Regions from separate parts of the Homo sapiens genome. Here region 1 is linked to region 2. Evidence: promoter capture Hi-C in human tissues and cell types (Jung and others, 2019). All regions are on one chromosome and are shown on one strand. The core of a region is centred on a gene start or on the middle of the fragment in contact, and the rest is flanking DNA. Distances in the headings are between cores, read along the strand shown.

What was found. The method cuts DNA at HindIII sites, captures the fragments that hold promoters and counts their contacts. A contact is called where the count stands out against the background at its distance.
Region 1: a contact is called between a fragment that was not itself captured here and the fragment with the promoter of CCNB2 in region 2, in 2 of the 25 tissues and cell types used here (H1 embryonic stem cells and pancreas).

The regions. Positions count from the first base shown.
Region 1 is chr15:59,417,732-59,421,993 of GRCh38, reverse strand. It overlaps a transcript of FAM81A not described here. Among named protein-coding and RNA genes, the nearest start is that of FAM81A, 18 kb to the left of the region's middle. The HindIII fragment of the contact is 6,339 bases long and covers 1-4,262 here.
Region 2 is chr15:59,102,638-59,106,985 of GRCh38, reverse strand. It overlaps CCNB2 (cyclin B2), which reads right to left and starts at 1,840. Exons shown (of 9, transcript NM_004701.4): 1 at 1,694-1,840. The coding sequence starts at 1,717. RefSeq lists an enhancer at 2,028-2,317. The HindIII fragment of the contact is 5,327 bases long and covers 1-4,348 here.

The sequences.
Region 1 (4,262 bases), core at 709-3,208, 310 kb before region 2:
CCATATGAACTTTCTTTTCCTTTCCTGGTCAAAAATATCAAATTAAAGTGGATATAAATAGGTGACAGATGATAGATAGATAGATAGATAGATAGATAGATAGATAGATAGATAGATAGATAGAGGGTTGAGGGTTTAATCTGTCCCCAAGGATAACAGCTTTAAAACCTCAATGCTTTTTTGGTAGGTAGTTAGGTAGGTAGATAGATAGATAGATAGATAGATAGATAGATAGATAGATAGATAGACAGATAGATAGATAGACAGACAGACAGACAGATAGATAGTTTAAGGGTTTAATCTGTCCCCAAGGATAAGAGCTTTAAAACCTCAATACTTTTTCCCAAGAAGGACCAAGGACTCCAGGTATAGGCCAGCAATAAATACAAGGTATAGCCAGGCAGCAACGGCAAAGTAGGGCACAATTACAAGTAAGGATTTAGACTGACATTTTAGACAAAAGAGCAGAAATTCGGGAGAGGCTCCTGTGAGGAAAGCAGACTTGGGGGAAGTCTTAAGCAGCACCAGGGAGAGCTCCCAGCCCGTCGTATATACGCTCCTGCTATACGCTAAGCTGCCCATTTTCCTCCAGAAACTAAGGTCCTCCCCAGGTTGTCCTGCCTTTAAAGCAGAGCCATCATGGACTTAAGGACCTTTCTGACCTACAGTGATGGGGTCCACATCTACTCCCACACAAGAATCTTTGTTCAAGCTGTCAGGGATCTGCCTTTCCACTGAGCTCCAATTCTACCTAGAACATTGCCCGTCGAAGTGTGATCTATGCACAAGAACACGAGCCCCTCTACTGTTAGGAATGCAGAGTTCAAGGGTCCCAACCTGGGTCTACAGGATCAGAATCTGCATTTTAACAAGACCTCCTGCTGATTCGTATGCACATTTAAGTCTGAGAAGTACTGGCCTAGAGAACGTGACCCCACCAGAACACAGTAGAGCACGTTCTTCAAGAGCCTTCCTGGCCGGGCGCGGTGGCTCACGCCTGTAATCCCAGCACTTTGGGAGGCCGAGGCGGGCGGATCACGAGGTCAGGAGATCGAGACCATCCTGGCTAACACGGTGAAACCCCGTCTCTACTAAAAATACAAAAAATTAGCCGGGCGAGGTGGCGGGCGCCTGTAGTCCCAGCTACTCGGGAGGCTGAGGCAGGAGAATGGCGTGAACCCCAGGGGGCGGAGCCTGCAGTGAGCCGAGATTGCGCCACTGCACTCCAGCCTGGGCGACAGCGAGACTCCGTCTCAAAAAAAAAAAAAAAAAAAAAAAAAAAAAAAAAAAAAAAAAGAGCCTTCCTTGGCTTCGTCACTGGATGAGTGATACTGGGGGTAGGAACCCTGTCATTAAAATCATTGGGATTATACAATAAATCTTATAAAGCACTGGGAAGAAATGTGATAAAAATGAAGAAACGAAAGGAAAAATTCTCTCTAGGCTGACATTTGGTATGCAACAACATGCAACTGGTATTTGGTATAAAATGTGTTTGTTTTTCCGTTAGACTCAGCTGTCCTAATTTGAAAGAGCCTCCAAAAATATCAGTTGCTATTTAGCTTCCCTTAGTTAAGGGTTGTTTAATTTTGTTAGACAATGAAGCTAATTCTCATCACTGCAACAGGAAGAACAATGACATGAACCCACAAAAGATGTCCCCGCCTACATATGGTTACAGTGGCATAAGCTGGGGACACAGTGACTAAAGTCAAGTCCTAGTCACTTAAACTTACCAGGGTATAATGGGGATTGCCAGAATCAGCGCTAGAAGCTGCATGTAAGAGATGTGTTTCCTGCTTGTGTTTGTTTCTTGAATTGTAATTTCCTAGCAGGAACATTTTTGCCCTGCTTCTTAGATGGCAGTCCCTAAAGAGTCATTCTCCATTTTTATCCTGCAATGGATTTTCTATGCCAGGATTTCAGGTAAATTCTCTGTGAATCAATCCAGTATGCATGAGGCATTGGCTCTGAGTCCAGCTCTGGGCTAGGGAGTGTGAAGGGGAAAGGGGCTGGGTGGCAAGACCCAAAATACATTCCAGCTGCATGATCCCTAACCTCCAGAGGGGCAGAGCTGTAGTTGGTTTTTGGTTTCTTTGTTTGTTTTTTTGTTTTTTAGATGGAGTCTCGCTCTGTTGTCCAGGCTTGAGTACAGTGGTGTGATCTCGGCTCCCTGCAATCCAGCTCCAGGAGTGATTCTCAAGCAATTCTCCTGCCTCAGCCTCCCAAGTAGTTGAGATTACAGGCGTCCGCCAGCACGCCCGGCCAATTTTTGTATTTTCAGTAGAGACAGGGTTTCACCATGTTGGCCAGGCTGGTCTCGAACTCCTGACTTCAAGCAATCTGCCCGCCTCGGCCTCCCAAAGTACTGGGATTACAAGCTTGAGCCACCGTGCCCGGCCTGTTGTTTTTTAATAGAATTCAAACACAGGAAACCATTGGGAAGAAATGAAAGAGAGGGTAATGAAGTACTAAATAATGTGGTTCACACTTCAAGTACTGTAGAAGGTCAGAAAAGAATGAGTTCTTTCCTATGAAAAGAGGAGAGGAAACTTAAAATGGTCCTTGATGAACGTGTTGCAATTTCATACATAGAAGAGAGATTAGGGGAAGTTTCTAGGGAGGAAACAGGGAGTTCAAAGGCACAAAAGTGAGAGTTATTTAATATCTCTTATTGTATCTTCCACTTCCCTAAATGAGAAGAATAACAGGATTTGTTTTAGTTAAATCATAGGTTTTTATGAGAGGGTTAAATGAGATGGTTTTTGTAATTGCTTTATAGATTAAAGGGTTATTCAAATTATTCCTTACTACTGCTGATATTATCGTTGTTATGGGCGTGCCTACTGTGTTCAGGACATTACCCTAGGCCTACAGATAATCGAACTGATGAAATGATTTTAGTAACCAACTACCAGTGACTTAAAACCAGAATACCAGTTTCTAATTTCTACAACTTAGGATGAAACCAGCCAAGAGATTTGAATCAGTCTTCTGCCTAAGACATTTTTTTTCTACAGCCAGTCTGTTCAGAAATCAAATTGTAGATCAGAAGGATAATGATGACAATATTAACACTGGTCATCATTAATTGTATATCAATGGACAGGGCTGTCTGCACACATGCCCTTGCTAATTCCTCACAGCAGTTCTGTGAGGAGGAGACATCACCTCCATTCTGCAGGAAAGGAAACTGGGGCTCAGATAATTTAAATAAGCTATCCATCTTCAGAACTAATAACTGATGAGCCTGGATTTAAACACATGCTTGTCTGGCTTCAAAGCCTAAGCTCTTTCCCCATGTTAGCAGACATGAAGAGGAAATCGAGCAAGGAAAGTCGCCCTTTACGGTTTTTCCTACCATGCCTGGGTAACATGAACAACAAATTGGGAGGAAAAAATAGCTGAATACATGAACTAAACTGAACATTGCACCAAGCTTGGGAAACACCTTCATAACCTGGATCGAGCTATTGATTAGACCAGATTCTAACACCCTTTCTAAACTTTCTTGCTCTACTTTTGGGGAGAATGGATTCAAGAGAACCAACCAGCTTGCCCTTGTAAATTACAGGGGTAAAAATGTTTTCTAAACAGGAAAAGGCAGGGTTATAGCTGATGAGTTTGATTGATTGTAAAACTCAGTTAGATAAATTGCATCCAAAGAACTTCTTCTCCACGTAAGGTAGCTTTTCTGTTGTCACTGTTTGTTGCCTCTGCCCCCATAGCTCATTTCTCATCACAGCCTCACAACTACCTCACAGCTCACATCGTGCCCTCAATGTGCTTGCACTGTGAAGAGAATGCTACCGTATTTGTGCTCTAGAAGAGAAGAAAGTGTCAGCTTGTCTTCCCGACAAAGTTAGATAAAAAATCCTATTTTAAAAGGATGAGTTCATATCCTTTGTAGGGATATGGATGAAACTGGAAACCATCATTCTCAGCAAACTATCACAAGGACAGAAAACCAAACACCACTTGTTCTCACTCACAGGTGGGGAATGAACAATGAGAACACTTGGACACAGGAAGGGGAACATCACACACCGGGGCCTGTCGTGGGTTGTGGGGAGGGAGGAGGGATAGCATTAGGAGATAAACCTAATGTAAATGACGAGTTAATGGGTGCAGCACACCAACAGGGCACATGTATACATATGTAACAAACCTGCATGTTGTGCACATGTACCCTAGAACTTTAAAGTATAATAAAAAAAATAAAAGGGATAATCAAGCAAAAAAAATCTTTTTATTTTTATTTA
Region 2 (4,348 bases), core at 591-3,090:
GAGATCCCTGCAAGTTAAAGGCATATATTTAAAAACCTTCCTTTACAGAGCTTGGTAAAAAGTAAATTAAGATGAAAAATAATAAAGCTATAATATTAATAGTTAATAATAGGTCTGGTTGTTTAAAAACCAGATGTTTAAAACCTAAACTAGCTTTGATTCTTATGCCATTTCACAAATAAGAAATGCTCCTGTATGCATGATCTTTTAGAACTACAGCTTTTTAAAATGAGGTTGCCATAGAATGGATTTTCTCTTATATTAAGGACATTTAGAATGGAAGTAGTTTTCTTGAGTAATATAGTTTTAGCTCCCAAACTCAGGGAAGGTTGGAATTGTATGAAATAAAAATTGTCAGTTGACCTTAACCTGCTTTAGACATAATGTGCTTGGAAATAAAACTTGCTAGGAAAAGCAACTCATACCAAAAAAAGTTTATTATAGAAGTGATAAACATTTCATTAAAAAAGAAAAAAGCAAAAAACCAGCATGTCCTATCCCTGAGAGTTCAGGGTCCCGACTCTAATAAAACTCCCAACAAGGGGTTTGAGTGGATCTACCAGGCAGAGAGAGGGGCCAGGGAAACTCAAGCCTTCCCTGAACAGAAAGGTTTTGACTATTAAATAACGTTATAGAATACATTATTATAAAAAATTACTTGTCAGTTGGACTTAGATCCACAAAAGGATATTAATTAAATGCTAAATGTATTCAATCTATTAGGATTCTCAAAAGTCACACTTCAATTTCTTCCAGCAGCAACTGCCAATCTGAAAAAGTGTTTGAAAATGTAATGCTTATGGGTAGAAGCCTGGTAATGTGACTCAATTTAAATTCATCTGGATAGGAAAATTGGCAGCTTTTATCTAACCTTATAGCCAAGATGATGGAACTCAGGTGTGTCAGGGCCCTCTAGCTTTCGGCAAAGGAAAAAAGTAGGTCCCGGTACAATTCAAGCCCACAGGAAAAATACCCAAAACACCATAACACTTTGATCTCTGCAAGGATGAAATAAATGAATTTGGACCCTTTTCTCTCAGTCTGCCACATTGGTCCAAATTATATTCAAAAACCTCTGTTACATTTGAGTAAAGAAATTAATTTTTTAAGGGGACAAACCCATTTATTAGTGAACGTAGCATGGAAGACTTAGCGTGCCGAAATAAATGGGAAACTCATACAAAAAGAAATGTGAACAATCTGAAAAACAGCCTGGCAGTTGCCTGATGAAACACGCCGTACACTTTACTGCCTACAGAACCCTTCCAGTCCTCCTCCCAGCCGCCATCACAGGTCCCTTAGTTGGCAAGGAGTTGTAAGAAAGGGGGAGGGAAATCCCAGGAACGTGGAAGTAGATAACTCTCTAGCAATGAAGAGCACTCGGGGATCGCTCGCTGAGTACTAGGCCTAGTGCTCTGGGGGCTCACTTGACAGGCGCCATCTCGGAAGCGCTTTCCTACACTTCTCCCACCCCGGGGCAGGGAGGGGTTAGGGGAGGGCGGAATCCAGACGGGGAAAGGCGGGCCGGAGAGGACCGGCCGCAGGGCCAGGGACGCGGGCGAAGCAGTGAGCTCCGGAGAAGAGAAAAGCAGCCCCGGTTGGGACGGAGAAGCTCGGAGCAGATGAGAGAAGCGACAGGGGAGCTGTGGGGCCGACGGACTCGCCTCTGAGAGCGGTCCCCGGGCACACTCACCGTCGGGCGTCGGAGCAGCGCCATGAGGGACGGGGAAGGCAAGAGTGCCAGCCCGGCCCAGGGAGGGACGCGGACTGAAAAGGGAGGACACTAGCGTACGAGGCGCCGTTAGGACTGCTCTCCGAGCCCGCAGCGCTGGGGATCTTCGACGCTGTAGCCTTGTTCCAGGATTCAAATACCGCGTCGCTTGCGCCCCATTGGGCGGCCCTGCGCACGGGTCGCTGTTCTCATTGGCCAACACAAGATGCACTCTCGCACTCTCATTGGCTGAATTTTCTTAGACACGTTTGATTGTCACAACAGCCGGTTGGGGTGTTTTTTCTGCCTACAGTCTTTTAAAAAAAAAAAAACCCCAGTCTCTGAGACAAACAAAAAGGAACTGTCTCATTGGGAAAGCAGACGTAGGACGCCTCTGAATTTTGACAAGGCCTCATCTACGAATTTCTCTCGACGTTTGTAGTGGGTGGGCGGAAGTTGGTTGGCCTTTATTCCTCTTCTGGTGTGTTGGGGTTTAAGTTGTGTTGGCCTGGGTGCAGGAACCGGCCCCTCCGGGTTGCTCAGGGATGCAGTGTGTTAGGTGGTTGAGATGCAAAAGTGTGCTTAAAAAAAGAGAGAATAATGGCGTTTACTCAAAAACCCAAATTCTCAAGTAAGGCAAAAAAAAAAAAAAAAAGATAAAAGAGATTTGTGTGACTGGTGATTCATGTAAGTTCTCCATTGTATTCCCAACACCTAGTACATCGTTTGTCGTATATGGTTGGTGCTCAATAAATGTTCGTCTAATAATCAGCCCAAGCAAAGAATTCATGTCTAAGACCCCAAAAGCAAATGCAACAAAAACAAAAATACATAAATGGGACCTAATTAAACTAAAAAGCTTCTGCACATCAAAAGAAATAATAGACAACCACAGATTAAGAGAAAATATTTGCAAACTATGCATCGGAAAAAGGCCTAGTGTCCAGAATCTAGAAGGAACTCAAATCAGCAAGAAAGAAAATAATGCCATCAAAAAATGGGCAAAGGACATGAATAGATATTTCTCAAAAGATATTCAAATGGCCAACAAATACATGAAAAAATGCTCAACATCACTGATCATCGAAGAAATGCAAGTTAATACCACAAGGAGATACCACCTTACTCCTGCAAGAATGGCCATCATTAAAAAGTCAGAAAAAAAGGCCGGGCGCAGTGGCTCACACCTGTAATCCCAGCACTTTGGGAGGCCTGTTGGGCAGATCATTTGAGCCCAGGTGTTCAAGACCAGCCTGGGCAACATGGCAAAACCCCGTCTCTACAAAAATACAAATATTAGCCGGGTGTAGTGGTGAGCACCTGTAGTCCCAGGTACTGGGAGGGGGGCGGGGGGCGGGGGGCGGGGGGCCGTGTGTTGGGGCAGGAGGATCCCTTGATCCCATGAGTCTGAGGCTGCAGTGAGCCATGATTGTGCCACAGTACTCCAGCCTGGGCAACACATTGAAACCCTGTCTAAAAAAGAAAAAAAACCTCAAAAAACAATAGTCAAAAAACAGTGTAGGCGTGGATGTGGGGAAAAGGGAATGCTTAAACACTGCTGGTAGGAATGTACAACTTCTATGGAAAAAAGTATGGTGATTCCTTAAAGAACAAAAAGTAGTTCTACCATTTGGTCCAGCAATTCCACTACTGGGTATCTACCCAAAGGAAAAGAAGTCATTATATGAAGAAGACACTTGCACATGTATGTTTACAGCAGCACAATTCACAATTGCCAACCTAAGTGCCCATCGACCGAGTGGGTACAGAAAATGTGGTATATATACACCATGGAATACTACTCAGCAATAAAAAGGAACAAAATAATGTCTTTTGCAGCAACCTGGATGGAGCTAGAGGCCATTATTCTAAGTGAAGTAACTCAGGAGTGGAAAACCAAAAACCGTATGTTTTCACTTGTAAGTGGGAGCTAAGCTGTGAATATACAAAGGCAAACACAGTGATATAATGGAATTTAGAGACTCAGAAGAGGGAGGGTGGAAGGGGAGACAGGGATAGAAACCTACATATTAGATAAAATATACACTACCTAGGTGATGGGCACACTAAAATCTCAGAATTCACCACTATATAATTCACCCACATCACAGAAAGCCACTTATATCCCAAAAGCTACTGAAATAAAATTTAAGTGTATTAATTAAAAAATATTCATCTAATAAATGATCTTATGATGTATGTAAGATTTAAGAATGAAAAACAAGGTGTGACACCAGTCTTGAGCAGAAGAGTGGGAGGATTAGCACAGTCCAAAGAGAACAGTATTAATGTTGCCCTTGTAAAAAGAAGCAGGTGAAGATCAAGACAGAAAAAGAAACAGGAAAGGAAAAAGTGAGATTAATGGGAAAAGAGAAGGAAAAGAGGAAAGGAGTGATCTAACACCCATGATATCAGGTTCCATTAAGAATCTGAAGGCCTGGCATGGTGGCTCACACCTGTAATCCCAGCACTTTGGGATGCTGAGGCAGGTGGATCACTTGAGGTCAGGAGTTCAAGATCAGCCTAGCCAACATGGTAAAAACCAGTCTCTATTAAAAATACAAAAATTAGCTGGGCGTGGTGGTGCAGGCCTCTAATCCCAGCTACTCGGTAGGCTGAGGCAGGAGAATCGCTTGA